5 separate regions of the Homo sapiens genome follow, and all the other regions are linked to region 5. The links are contacts of gene promoters, found by promoter capture Hi-C in blood cells and fetal thymus (Javierre and others, 2016). All regions are on one chromosome and are shown on one strand. The core of a region is centred on a gene start or on the middle of the fragment in contact, and the rest is flanking DNA. Distances in the headings are between cores, read along the strand shown. Region 1 holds the start of RPSA (ribosomal protein SA). Region 2 overlaps SCN11A (sodium voltage-gated channel alpha subunit 11). Region 3 overlaps LOC105377037 (a long non-coding RNA gene). Region 4 overlaps LOC101928263 (a long non-coding RNA gene). Region 5 holds the start of EPM2AIP1 (EPM2A interacting protein 1).

Evidence for each region. Contacts are between HindIII fragments. The CHiCAGO score rates a contact against its expected background, and 5 or more counts as called.
Region 1: a contact is called between the fragment with the promoter of RPSA here and the fragment with the promoter of EPM2AIP1 in region 5, in 1 of 17 cell types (naive CD8 T cells). The highest score is 5.7, in naive CD8 T cells.
Region 2: a fragment that was not itself captured here is called in contact with the fragment with the promoter of EPM2AIP1 in region 5 in 5 of 17 cell types (naive CD8 T cells, total CD4 T cells, total CD8 T cells and 2 more); the score reaches 14.3 in naive CD8 T cells.
Region 3: a fragment that was not itself captured here is called in contact with the fragment with the promoter of EPM2AIP1 in region 5 in 1 of 17 cell types (total CD4 T cells); the score reaches 5.3 in total CD4 T cells.
Region 4: a contact is called between a fragment that was not itself captured here and the fragment with the promoter of EPM2AIP1 in region 5, in 1 of 17 cell types (neutrophils). The highest score is 7.8, in neutrophils.

Annotation. Positions count from the first base shown.
Region 1 is chr3:39,405,325-39,408,090 of GRCh38, forward strand. RPSA (ribosomal protein SA) reads left to right here and starts at 1,396. Exons shown (of 7, transcript NM_002295.6): 1 at 1,396-1,440; 2 at 2,297-2,462. The coding sequence starts at 2,330. RefSeq lists enhancers at 1,117-1,908, 1,290-1,429 and a silencer at 1,600-1,779. The HindIII fragment of the contact is 4,276 bases long and covers 1-2,766 here.
Region 2 is chr3:39,047,535-39,050,434 of GRCh38, forward strand. All of the region lies in intron 1 of SCN11A (sodium voltage-gated channel alpha subunit 11), which reads right to left. Among named protein-coding and RNA genes, the nearest start is that of SCN11A, 3.0 kb to the right of the region's middle. The HindIII fragment of the contact is 2,996 bases long and covers 13-2,900 here.
Region 3 is chr3:39,376,815-39,379,547 of GRCh38, forward strand. LOC105377037 (a long non-coding RNA gene) reads left to right here. Exons shown (of 3, transcript XR_001740661.3): 2 at 662-863. It overlaps LOC105377644 (a long non-coding RNA gene), which reads right to left. Exons shown (of 3, transcript XR_007096252.1): 3 at 2,617-2,733. Among named protein-coding and RNA genes, the nearest start is that of SLC25A38, 5.2 kb to the right of the region's middle. RefSeq lists a silencer at 1,388-1,437. The HindIII fragment of the contact is 8,755 bases long and covers 1-2,733 here.
Region 4 is chr3:39,161,273-39,163,972 of GRCh38, forward strand. All of the region lies in intron 1 of LOC101928263 (a long non-coding RNA gene), which reads left to right. Among named protein-coding and RNA genes, the nearest start is that of CSRNP1, 9.0 kb to the left of the region's middle. The HindIII fragment of the contact is 5,351 bases long and covers 1-2,700 here.
Region 5 is chr3:36,991,748-36,994,529 of GRCh38, forward strand. It overlaps EPM2AIP1 (EPM2A interacting protein 1), which reads right to left and starts at 1,384. Exons shown (of 1, transcript NM_014805.4): 1 at 1-1,384. The coding sequence starts at 1,330. It overlaps MLH1 (mutL homolog 1), which reads left to right and starts at 1,771. Exons shown (of 19, transcript NM_000249.4): 1 at 1,771-1,916. The coding sequence starts at 1,801. RefSeq lists enhancers at 555-634, 665-984, 1,105-1,454, 1,825-2,044, 1,961-2,472. The HindIII fragment of the contact is 4,668 bases long and covers 1-2,255 here.

The DNA of each region.
Region 1 (2,766 bases), core at 146-2,645, 2.4 Mb after region 5:
TGGATGTGCTGTCCTTTGGAAGAGTGGCCATAAGGGTCTACGAGTTCATTTTAGGGTGGGCTCAGAAATCAGATTGACTCAGCAGGCCCCAGAGAGGAACCTGCACTTTTTTTTTTTTTGACGGAGTCTTACTCTGTCGCCCAGGCTGGAGTGCAAGTGGCGCAATCTCCACTCACTACAACCTCTGCCTCCTGGGTTCAAGCAATTCTCCCGCCTCAGCCTCCCCAGTAGCTGGGATTACAGGCATGCCTGGCTAATTTTTGAATTTTTAGTAGATACCGGGTTTCGCCATGTTGGCCAGGCTGGTCTCTTGAACTCCTGGCCTCAAGGGATCCGCCCGCGTCAGCCTCCGAAAGTGCTGGGATTACAGCCACCGCGCCCCTTCAATTAACTCCTATTTTTTTGTTTGTTTTTTGGAGACAGAATTTCGCTCTATTGCCCAGGCTGGAGTGCAGCGGTGCAATCACATTCACTGCAGACTTGACCTCTAGGCTCAAGCTATCCTCCTGCCTCAGCCTCCTGAGTAGCTGAGACTACAGGGACGCACCATCATGATTGGTTAATTTTTGTATTTTTTGTGGAGATGGGGGTCTCCCCATGTTTCCCAGGCTAGTCTTGAACTTCTGAGCTCAGGCAATCCACCCACCTCGGCCTCCCAAAGTGCTGGGATTACAGGCACAAGCCACCGCGCCCGGCAAACTTATCTCCTACTGATGGATATTGCAAAATTTTTCTTCTACCAAAAAAAAAAAAAAAAAAAAGATAGATATAATCCATACCATCTGTTCAATCTTGTCCTTTTTAACTTTTTCAGGGAAACTTCCCCCAGGTGATAGATGGATAGATACATGAGATAGACATAACGCATACGATCAGTTCAATCTTATCTTTTTTAACTTTTTCAGAGAAAACTTCCCTTAAGTGAACATTTAAATCTGAATTACGTCCTGTTAAACTGTTCTCCAGGAAAATAAAATAAAATAAATCTTCAAGTTTTTGTTTACCTAACAATTTGTTGTGTCGAACAAACCTTCCTACTTTTCAGGTAACAAAATGGCAGCTTAGGCTAGAAAGCCGCTCATATTCGCAGGTACAAGGGCTGGGTAAGAACGCCCCGCCTGGCTGACTAACTTGAGTTCCGCGCTCTGGACAGGAATTATGCACAGGGCGTCGCTGTGGCACTAGAAACCCCAAAGTCACAAGCGCCCCAGATCCGACCAGGATGCCGCTACCGGCTACAGCCCAGAGGCCCGCTCCTGCGGCGCAAGCCCGCCTTCCTGAAGAAAAAGCCCAGTCCCGGCAGCGTTCTTCTCCGGCTCCGCCCTTCTTCCGCTCGACTTTCTTTGCCATTGGCTGACAACGGAGTACATAAGGACGTCATTTCCTGCCGCCTGTCTTTTCCGTGCTACCTGCAGAGGGGTCCATACGGCGTTGTTCTGGGTGAGTTCCGTGTAGCGTCCCTGGCGCCTTCCAGGGCTAGAAAAATGAGCTTTTCCTGCTCAAATGAAGGGTGAGAAGACTAGTGATGAAAGCCGGTCAGACTGGATCTGTCTCCCGCCCGGCGCGCCCCACCTTAGGCCTGCGGCCCGCACGTGGCCAGGCTCGGGCTGGCGGGTTCCCAGAGTGCCCCGGGAGCGGGTGGAGGCCGCCCTCCAGCGGAGGCTCCGAGCTGGGGTTCGGACCAGGCCGCGGGTGGGCGGGAGTGCAGAAAGCGGGCTAACATCCTGTGTTGCTATCCCTTCGGAGTCCCACACGGCGGTGAGTCTAGGCCCAGGCGCTGATTTACACCAGCTACTTGGGCTGGTCGGGTTTTCCCTTCGCGCCGTGCGGGTCAGGAGTTAAGGTTCTCGGGTTTTTAGACAAACAAGTGGTGACAGCACAGCGAAGTAATTCCAAAGCATCCGCCTACAATCTGCTTGAAAATGTCTGAAAACAATTCATGCCTTTTTTGCCTTTAGTTTGCATATTCCAAACATGGCTGCTCTTTTGTATCTAGTTGTTAACTTGGCGCATCCACAACTTTTCCTTAATTCCTATCTTGAGAAGTGTTGAATTTCCATTCGCTAATTTCGTGTAGTTTTATTACTCGGTTACTCTGCCGTCCACACTATTTCCTCAGTAAGATGTGCGCTGTTCCGTAATACACGACATGTATGGGTTAACTTTCTGTTTACCCTTCACTACACTGTAAGCTCAATGCCTGACACTATAGCAGATGGAGTTTTTGGTTGCTTTTAAGGGTGTGCCCTACTTAACTCAATGGAATGAAAAGAAATAGGTTGCTCTCTTATTTCAGATTCCCGTCGTAACTTAAAGGGAAATTTTCACAATGTCCGGAGCCCTTGATGTCCTGCAAATGAAGGAGGAGGATGTCCTTAAGTTCCTTGCAGCAGGAACCCACTTAGGTGGCACCAATCTTGACTTCCAGATGGAACAGTACATCTATAAAAGGAAAAGTGATGGTTAGTCATTGCTTTAATTTTTTGTTACTCCAGCTGTAAGTACAAATTTTGAGCTTGCTATTCTCGTGGTTAGTTCTGGGTAATTTCTTTCTATCTTCCTTAAATGAAGCCAGACCCCTACGTTGAAAACATACTTTAAATAAATGTTCTTGTTATTGAGAGAAAAGATTTCTGCTCCAGGGGAGGAATATGTCAGTTGTCTGAGTTACGGGACTTGGGTTGGGTCATGAACATGAGAAAGTTCATTGGCTGAGTTTCTAATAGCTCGCATAGTGCCTTCAACTTCATAGGTACTTACACAGGC
Region 2 (2,900 bases), core at 261-2,760, 2.1 Mb after region 5:
ATCAAACTAAAAAGCTTCTGCACAGAAAAGGAAACAATCAATAGAGGAATGAGACAGCCTACAGAATGAGAGAAAATATTTGCAAAGTATTCATCCAACAAGGAATTAATATCCAGGAAGTATAAAAAACTCAAACAACTCAATAGCAAAAAAAACCCAAATAATTTTTAAATGGGCAAATGATCTGAATACACATTTTTCAAAAGAAGACATATAAATAGCCAACAAATACATGAAAAAAATGCTCAACATCACTAATCATCAGGGAAATACAAATCAAAACCACAGTGAGATATTATCTCACTCCAGTTAGAATCGCTATACGAAAAAGACAAAAACAAATGCAGAGGGTGAGGATGCAGAGAAAAGGGAATTCATACACTGTTGATAGGAATGTAAATTAGTTCAACCATTATGGAAAACAGTGTGTAGATTTCTCAAAGAACTAAAACTACAACTACCATATGATCCAGCAATCCCACTACTACCCAAAGAACAGGAAATCAGTATGTCAAAGAGATACCTGTCCTCCCACAGTTACTGCAGCACTATTCACAGTGGCCAAGATACGGAGTTAACCTAAGTGTCCATCAAAAGAAGAATGGATAAAGAAAATGTGGTACATATATGCAATGAAATACTATTCAATCATAAAAAAGAATAAAATTATGTCATTTGCAGCAACATGGATAGCACCGGAGGTCATTATCTTAAGTGAAATAAGCCAGGCACAGAAAGATAAATACTGCATGTTCTCACCAATATGTGAAAGAGAAATAAGTTGATCTCAGAGAAGTAGAGAACAGAATAGTGGTAACTAGTGGCTGAGAAGGGTAAAGGAGAGGATTATATATAGAGAGGTTGGTTAACACATATAAAATTACAGCTAGGTAGAAGGAATAATTTTTGGTGTTCTATATCACTGTAGGATGACTATGATTAACAATAATTTATTCCATATTTTCAAATAGCTAAAAGAGTGGATATTGAATTTTCCCAAAGCAATTATTACAGATTGTATACAGGTATCAAAATATCACACTGTACCCCATATATATGTACAATTATTATGTGTCAATTAAAAAATACATCCACAAATTTATTGATACTTCATAAAAAAAGGAGTCATCTAATCCCCTCTCCTTAGACACTGATGGCCTTAGTAACTAAGTTCTAATGAATTGACTATGGCTTAAAGTGACACTGCATGACTTCCACTGTGAGTTTAGAAAAAGCATTATAGCTTTCAACCAGATTTTTCTTCTTCGGGATGCTCATCCTTGGAACCCAGTTAGCATATTGTGAGGAACCAAATAGTGCTGTGGAAAGATCATGAGAAGGTGTTCTAGCCACAGCTTTGGCTAAGGACTAGGCCAACACCAGTATCAGTCACCAGACATGTGAGAGAAGGGGTCTTCAGATGATTCCAGCCCCAATCTTTTAGCTGCCCCAGCTGATGTGAAGTGGATAGTGGAACAGAGACAATCTGTTCCCATGAAGCTCTGCATAAATTACAGATTTGTAAGTAAAGTAAGGGTTGTAATTGTTTTAAACCATTGCATTTTGCAGATGGTTAAACAGCAATAGATAAAAGGAACAGGAAAAAAGAGTGCTGAATATTGGACAGTAGTTCAGAGCATATACTGCATCCTACAGGACAGTATCAAAAAGGGTTATCTCCCAGAAGGCACCATAGCTAAGTCTTCAATATATCTTCAATAAGACAAGATACTTCTCAGTGATTGAGTACACAATTAGACCAATAAATTCCATGGGCAATAGCCCATTGCATTACTTCTTTCATTGCAGAGTGAATTTCTTGGTCAAAAGCAATATAGTGTTAGAGAAAATGATAGTGTCTAAAGCACTGAGTAATTCCCTAGATGGTGGTGTCAGCGGAAGTACAGTGAGCAGGGAAAGCAAATCTCAATCTAGAATAAACATATTTTAGAGAGGACAAATAAGAACTCCCTCAATGATGGGGAGGGCCAATGACCAATGGAATAGACTTGCCTACATGTGACTGGCTGACCCTCCCAGAGCATGGGGTATTGGTCACTGCTTCTGAACACCCAGCGGTGGCTTGGTGATCCCATGCATAGCTCCAATCCTGTTGCCATTGCCATTGCCATTTATTTCATGATTCTACTGAGCAGGCAGTGAGGCTGAGTTTCATCACAAAGCAGTTCATTTCATCCATATGATTCTTAAGATTTATTCTGAGAGGTCCATCACTATATCCCTTCTGGAGTCTTCCTTGTCACTAGTTCTCCAGTCTTGCTCTTTCCATGTCCTTCACAAACTGGCCAAAAAATTATCCTCTGACCCTGAATTGACCATTTCTCCTTTCAGCCAAACTGAACATCAAAACATACTGGTGAAAATTCTGCCCACTGAAAGAACTTCACTATTTCAATATTTTTCAGGTCCAAAGCAGGACTACAACATATCAATTTCTAGCAAGTACCAGTATATTGTCCAGAGCAACATACCTGTATTGTATTTTGCACATCATAGGTGCTCAATAGACACTTAAGCAATTTTTAAAATACAGACATATTATTTCCCTACCTGTATTTCAACAGCTTCCCATTGGTCTAAAAGATCCTGCTGGGTATGGCCTCTGCATACTCCTTTCACTTCTCTGTACTCTAAGCCTTGACTCTCAGTTCCTGTAATGTTCCATGCTCTCTCCTGCTACAAGACCTTTGCTCAGACTGTTCCCTCTCCTTGCCTAGTTAACTCTTGACTCAAGATACTTCCTGTCTTACAATCATCTTTCTTCATAGTACTTATCTCTGTATTAATTCCTGTCTCATCCTGGGACTCTAAGTTCTATGACTATGTGCACTCACCACTGATTCCCCAACACCTAATATAGTGCCTGGCATATATGATAT
Region 3 (2,733 bases), core at 38-2,537, 2.4 Mb after region 5:
CTGCTGCCTCAGCCTCCCGAGTAGCTGGGACTACAGGCAACCACCACCATGCCCGGCTAATTTTTTGTATTTTTAGTAGGGATGGGGTTTCACTGTGTTAGCCAGGATGATGGCTGAGCCTTCTGATTGTAATAGGACAGTAAGGAGATAAAATAAACTACATAGTCAAACAAGGTGAACCGTCTTAGAAGCAGAACCTGAAGGAACTGGGGAGCAGGAGAGGGAGGCACAGAGGAGCTGGAAGCTGAAAGGAAACAGGCAGGGGAAAGAATGTGTCTTTGAATTGCATATCAGCAAGGCTCTCCAGTGTGAGTGAGACTTGACCAGTTTGTAACTTCCCGTGTACGGAAATCCTTCTAACATGCAAATCTGACCCTTTCATTCTCCTGCTTAAACCTCTTCAGCATAAAGCCTACATTCTCCTACATGGTTGATGGAGGGCCCCAGGCTCTCCCTCTGGCCTCCTCCCTTCCATTCCTTCCCTCCTACTAGACGTTTCCACATTTACAGTTCTAGGAATCTGACATGCTCTCTCTTACCTCTGGGTATTTGTACATGCTCTGCAAGATGAAAACAGACTCATCTATTAGTAAATGCTTGAATGAATGAGTCAAATCGGAAGGTACTGGGGACAGTCCACCACCCCTTTTGGACTTTTCAGGTCTCAAGCAGTAGCCACCTCCAGTCTGATACAAAGGATTACTCCCTCCCCAGTGCCAGCTGGAGCCCCATCATGGTGAGGCTCTACAATGAGTTCATGGAGAAGACTGTGGATGGGTCATGGACAAGACTTCCAGGTTGTTGGTGCTCTGTGCAATTCCTTAAAGAAGCAGACCTTACTAAGATTGCTAAAGCTGTCCCTGGTATGTTGAAACCCCCTACACCAGTAGGGTTTAACTGGGCTTGCAGGGGTGCTCTAAATAATACAGAACTGTTGGCAAAACTTTGTTTATGCATATGCATTTTCCTCAGTGCAATCTGTGCCCCAGCCTATCTCCTATATCTCCTCTGTGGCTTGCATTAGCCTGAAAGTCAGGACCAAGGGAGTCTGGAGATCATGATCCCTGATTCATATGATATTAGCCCAGAAAAGGAACTTGGAGCCACTTAGTTCAAGGCCCTCATCTTACACGTGAGAAAGCTGAAGCCTAGAGAGGTGACAATGAGTTTTTGTCAGATATTGGACTAGCATCAGAAACTCCTGACTTTTAGTTCAGTGTTCTCTCCACTTCTATCCGAAGCCACTCCTGGCATCTCCTTATACTTTCCCACCACAGCTGGTCTCCTGTATAGACCAGACAGATGAAGCATACATGAGGAATTGGAAAGGGGCAGCGTCTGGGACCAAGGGCCAGTGCCTTCACCCTGGTACACCCAAGGCCAGTAGCTCAGTGACAATGCCAGTGGGACTATCAGGTAATTTACAGACACCTGAAGCCAGGACCCAGAACCTGTTGGGAACAGGACACGTGTTCCCTCTAGTGGCCAGTTTGAGCTGAGCTTCTGACTGGGTGAAAGAGAACAGATGGGAAAGAATGGCAGATGATGGAGTGCCACGCGTGTTAAGAAACAAAGGGGCCAGAGGGAAAGACTTCTAATTTACATACCTAATCTGTCATTAGAAATTCTGCTTTGAGATTTTTGGTAAAAATGCAGATGTTTGGTAAGTATTTGGAATTAAAAAAACATAGACACAGGGTCTTGCTCTGTCACCCAGGCTGGAGTGCAGTGGTGCAGTCATAGTTTGCTGCAGCCTTGAACTCCTGGGCTCAAGAGACTGTCCTGCCTCCACCTTCCGAGTAGCTGGGACTACAGGCTCATTCCACCACACCTGGCTACTGTTTTTATTTTTGTAGAGACAAGGTCTTGTTATGTTGCCCAGGCTGGTCTTGAACTCTTGGGCTCAAGAGATCCTGCTGTCTCGTCCTCCCAAAATGCTGGGATTACAAGCCGGAGCCACTGAATCTACCCTAAGTATTTAATTTTATATATGGGAGGCTTCACTCTTGACCTCTAATTAAGGCCCATAAACTGGCCAGGCGCAGTGGCTCACATCTGTAATCCCAGCAATTTGGGAGGCCGAGGCAGGCAATCACCTGAGGTAAGGAGTTTGAGACCAGCCTGGCCAACATGGTGAAACTCCATCTCTACTAAAAAAACAAAAATTAGCTGGGCGTGGTGATGTGCGCCTGTAATCCCAGCTACTCAGGAGGCTGAGGCAGGAGAATCACTTGAGCCCGGGAGGCGGCGGTTGCAGTGAGCTGAGATTACACCATTGCACTCCAGCCTGGGCAATAGCACAAGACTTATCTCAAAATAACAAACAAGAAAGTTGAGGTGAATACACAGCTAGCAGGTGACAAATCCAGGATCAAATACAGAATCAATGCCTGATTCCAAAGTCCACTTTCTTTTTACAGCATTACTCTGCCTCAGTGGTCTCTCAAAGACACACAGAAAAAAGCAGGAGATAGCCTCTACCCTTTAAGGAAGGGAAACAAGGTGTATTTGTCAGGGAAATATGTGTCCTGATTTTCTTTCATCCAGATTATGAAAGATAATCTCCTTTACTTAAAGTCAACTGATTACAGAGGTTAACCACATCTACAAAATACCTTCACAGCAACACCTGGATTAGTGTTTAATTGAAAACTGGGTATTATAGCCTAGCCAAGTTGACACATAAAACTGACTGTTACACAAGATGCTGCTTATAAATGAAGTCATTCTGTC
Region 4 (2,700 bases), core at 193-2,692, 2.2 Mb after region 5:
GGGCACAGTGGCTCATACCTGTAATCCCAGCCCTTTGGGAGGCTGAGGCAGGTGGATCACCTGAGGTCAGGAGTTCGAGACCAGCCTGGACAACATGGTGAAACCCCGTCTCTACTAAAAATACAAAAATTAGTCGGGCGCAGTGGCTAATGCCTGTAATCCCAGCACTTTGGGACGCCGAGGCGGGTGGATCACCTGAGGTCAGGAGTTCGAGACCAGCCTGGCCAACATGGTGAAACCCTGTCTCTACTAAAAATACAAAAATTAGCTGGGTGTGGTGGCAGGCACCTGTAATCCCAGCTACTCGGGAGGCTGAGGTAGGAGAATCGCTTGAACCCAGAAGGCGGAGTTTGTAGTGAGCCGAGATCGCGCCATTGCTCTCCAGCCTGGGGGACAAGAATGAGACTCCATCTCAAAAAAAAAAAAAAAAAAAAAAATTAGCCAGGCATGGTGGTGGGTGCCTGTAATCCCAGCTACTTGGGAGGCTGAGGCAGAAGAACCACTTGAACCCCGGAGGCAGAGGTTGCAGTGAGCTGAAATCACACCACTGCACTCCAGCCTGGGTGACAAGAGGAAGACACTGTCTCAAAAAAAAACAAAAAACACAGAGTAGTCTGGCTACAGTGGCTCACACCTGTAATCCCAGCACTTTGGGAGGCCAAGGTGGGAGGATCACATGCATCCAGGAGTTTGAGACCAGCCTGGACAACATAGGGAGACCCTGTCTCTACAAAAATTCGAAACTTTGTGGTGTGTGGTGGCATATGCCTGTAGTTCCAGCTACTCGGGAGGCTGAGGTGGGAGGATCACTTGAGTCCAGAAGGTTGAGGCTGCAGTGAGTCATTATCATGCCACTGCACTCCAGCCTGGGAGACAGAGTGAGACCCTGTCTCAAAACAAAACAAAAAACAAAAGCCTAGAATAGAATGTTCTCTATTATTTTATTTATTTTTATTTTTAGAGACAGGATCTCACTTTGTTGCCCAGGCTGCAGTGCAGTGGTGGGCTCATAGCTCACTGCAGACTCAAACTCCTGGGCTCAAGCAATCCTCTTACTTTAGCTTCCCAAGTAGCTGGGACTACTGGCGTGCACCATCACATTTGGCTAATTTTGTTTGTTTTTAGCAGTGGTCAGGCTTCACTATGTTGCCCAGACTGGTCTTAAACTCCTGAGCTCAAGCCATCCTCCCGCTTTGGCCTCCCAAAATGCTGGGAGCACTTTGCCCAGCATTCTGTATAATTTTAATATTATCTTTGTAAAGGCCCTTATATGTCTTTTAAATATTTTTCTAAATATTTTGTCTTTTTGATTGCCATTATAACTGTAATTTCTATCGTATATTTCTGATAGATTTTATATATATACATATATTATGTATATAAAGTAAAGTAAAGGAGAGCTACTGGGTTTTGTATATGAACCTTGGAAACTGCCATCATCTTTATTTATTTATTTTTTTGAGATGGGATCTTGCTCTGTTGCCCAGTGGCACAATCTTGGCTCACTGCAACCTCTGCCTCCTGGACTCAAGTGATCCTTCCACCTCAGCATCCCTAGTACCTGGCACCACAGGTGCTCGCCATCATGCCTAGCTAATTTTTGTATTTTTTGTAGAGACAGAGTTTCGCCATGTTTCCAGGCTGGTTTCGAACTTCTGGGCTCAAGAAATCCACCTGCTTCAACCTCCCAAAGTGCTGGGATTACAGGCATGAGCCACCGCACCCGAGCCATCCTGAATTACTGCCTCTCTAATAGTTGGGAATTTTCCAATCACATCATCTACATATAAATTTGCTTCCTCTTTCCAATATTTACATCACATTTCTCTTTTTTGTCTAATTACACTGGCTTGAACTGCTAGAGCCATGTTAAATGATAATGATCATGATGGCTGCTTTCACCTTGCTTTTTATTTTTTGGCTTAAAACAATAGAAATTTATTCTCTCACAGTTCTGGAGGCCAGAAGTCCTAAGTCAAGGTGTTGGCACTGCTGTTTCCTTCTGGACACTGTGAGGGAAAACCATTCCCTGCCTCTCTTGCAGTTTCTGGTGGCTGCCGGCCCTCCTCGGCACTCCTTGGCTTGTGGCCGCGTCCCTCTGGGCTCTGCTCTGTCTTCACGTTGCCTTCTCCCCTGTGGGCCTTTTCTCCTCTTCTCTTCTGAAGACACTTATCATTGGATTTAGGGCCCATCTCAATCCATGATGATGGCATCAAGATTGTTAACGGAATTACACCCACAAAACTCCTTTCATACATTCACAGCTTCCAGGAGGACATTATCTTTGGAGGCACTACCTTCAACCTGATGCTTTTTCCTGAAATGACTTTTTTCTTTTTACATTTGGCTACTGTGGTATAAACTGTTGTCCCATCCGAATGACCTGACATGCACCTGAAACATGTTTGAAAACGCAACGTTTGTTAGTGCAGTCAGCTCTCCTCTGGAACTTTTCAGCTAATCTGTCACCTTACAGCTCTTGGTTTAATCCTCCTCTTACCTGGGTATAGGATGTGCCCACAATGTCAGGCCTTTTCGTTCTCTCTCTATATATAATTTTTTCTTTCAATAGCTTGTGGGGTCCCAGGGGGTTTTGGTTTCATGGATGAATTATATAGTGGGGAAGTCTGAGATTTTAGTGCATCTCTCGCCCAAGTAGTGTATATTGTCCCAATATCTGTCACCCCTTTTCCACCCCCC
Region 5 (2,782 bases), core at 134-2,633:
GCTCATCAACAACTTCTCTGAGGGCAGGAAAGTCTGTTAGATTTTTTTCCTCAATATGTCTTTGAAATAAATTCAGCTTAACTTCGAAAGTACAAATATGGTCAAAGGCAGCAGCAGCAAAGACTTTACTAACTCGTAATTCTTCACTGAGTTCTCGAAGGTGTTCCATAATGTCCACCAAGAAGCCAAAGTCACAAAGCCATTGTTTGTCTGAGAAGTGGACTGTTGTTGCCCCTACTGAAACCAAGAACGCTTCCATTTCTTTTCTTAGAGAGAATATTAGTTTTAAAGTTTTCCCTCTCCTAAGCCAATTGTTCAGACATCGTCCATTAACCCTTTCACCATGCTCTGATTCAGATTCCGTTAGTAAAGTCTGAAATTCAGGTCGCCTAACGCCTCTGGTCTTAATCAAAACTATCCATTCGGATATGGTATTTATGATCTGATTAACATCTACATCATAGGAGCTCAACAGTTCCAAGTGAAGAAATCCTGAATAATGAATGACATTCCAACAGTTGGGGCTTACGGCCTTTTCTCTCATGTATGAGACGAGTCCTGAGTTCTCACCAATCATCCTCAAAGTATGGGTCGTGGTCAGTCCAACCATTCTCTGCAAGCTAAGCCCTGCTGTCTGCAGGGACTCTAGGATTGCCGACATGAGCGCACCAACACTGAAATGATGAGTCAGGTTGATTATGGTCAGAAGATCTTCTTGCACCTCCAACTCAGGGCCTACACCGCGGATAAAGACCAGGAGGTAGTTCTCATAGGCCACAAAAGCCTGGTCGTCCAAGGCAAGAGAATAGGCTTTAAAGTCCCTGGCTCGGTTAAAAAGCTGGTTGCGTAGATTCCTGTCAATGCTCAGGATCCTCTGCCTTGTGATATCTGGAGATAAGTCAACGCCTTGCAGGACGCTTACATGCTCGGGCAGTACCTCTCTCAGCAACACCTCCATGCACTGGTATACAAAGTCCCCCTCACCCCAGCCGCGACCCTTCAAGGCCAAGAGGCGGCAGAGCCCGAGGCCTGCACGAGCAGCTCTCTCTTCAGGAGTGAAGGAGGCCACGGGCAAGTCGCCCTGACGCAGACGCTCCACCAGGGCCGCGCGCTCGCCGTCCGCCACATACCGCTCGTAGTATTCGTGCTCAGCCTCGTAGTGGCGCCTGACGTCGCGTTCGCGGGTAGCTACGATGAGGCGGCGACAGACCAGGCACAGGGCCCCATCGCCCTCCGGAGGCTCCACCACCAAATAACGCTGGGTCCACTCGGGCCGGAAAACTAGAGCCTCGTCGACTTCCATCTTGCTTCTTTTGGGCGTCATCCACATTCTGCGGGAGGCCACAAGAGCAGGGCCAACGTTAGAAAGGCCGCAAGGGGAGAGGAGGAGCCTGAGAAGCGCCAAGCACCTCCTCCGCTCTGCGCCAGATCACCTCAGCAGAGGCACACAAGCCCGGTTCCGGCATCTCTGCTCCTATTGGCTGGATATTTCGTATTCCCCGAGCTCCTAAAAACGAACCAATAGGAAGAGCGGACAGCGATCTCTAACGCGCAAGCGCATATCCTTCTAGGTAGCGGGCAGTAGCCGCTTCAGGGAGGGACGAAGAGACCCAGCAACCCACAGAGTTGAGAAATTTGACTGGCATTCAAGCTGTCCAATCAATAGCTGCCGCTGAAGGGTGGGGCTGGATGGCGTAAGCTACAGCTGAAGGAAGAACGTGAGCACGAGGCACTGAGGTGATTGGCTGAAGGCACTTCCGTTGAGCATCTAGACGTTTCCTTGGCTCTTCTGGCGCCAAAATGTCGTTCGTGGCAGGGGTTATTCGGCGGCTGGACGAGACAGTGGTGAACCGCATCGCGGCGGGGGAAGTTATCCAGCGGCCAGCTAATGCTATCAAAGAGATGATTGAGAACTGGTACGGAGGGAGTCGAGCCGGGCTCACTTAAGGGCTACGACTTAACGGGCCGCGTCACTCAATGGCGCGGACACGCCTCTTTGCCCGGGCAGAGGCATGTACAGCGCATGCCCACAACGGCGGAGGCCGCCGGGTTCCCTGACGTGCCAGTCAGGCCTTCTCCTTTTCCGCAGACCGTGTGTTTCTTTACCGCTCTCCCCCGAGACCTTTTAAGGGTTGTTTGGAGTGTAAGTGGAGGAATATACGTAGTGTTGTCTTAATGGTACCGTTAACTAAGTAAGGAAGCCACTTAATTTAAAATTATGTATGCAGAACATGCGAAGTTAAAAGATGTATAAAAGCTTAAGATGGGGAGAAAAACCTTTTTTCAGAGGGTACTGTGTTACTGTTTTCTTGCTTTTCATTCATTCCAGAAATCATCTGTTCACATCCAAAGGCACAATTCATTTTGAGTTTCTTTCAAAACAAATCGTTTGTAGTTTTAGGACAGGCTGATGCACTTTGGGCTTGACTTCTGATTACCCTATTGTTAAATTAGTGACCCCTCTTAGTGTTTTCCTGTCCTTTATTTCGGAGGACGCACTTCGAAGATACCAGATTTTATGGGTCATCCTTGGATTTTGAAGCTTATAACTGTGACAAAAAATGTGAAGGGAAGAGATTTGAAACATGTGGAAGGAAAAGTGAGTGCAGACTATAAACTTCCAAAAAGACAAGCCCAAAATACACCTAAACGTTATGTCAGATTATTTTGTTAAAATCAGTTGTTAGTGACGTCCGTACGTTAATAGAAAAAAGAATGCTTCAGTTTGGAGTGGTAGGTTTCTAGAGGGATTTATTGTGAAAGTATAAACTATTCAGGGCAA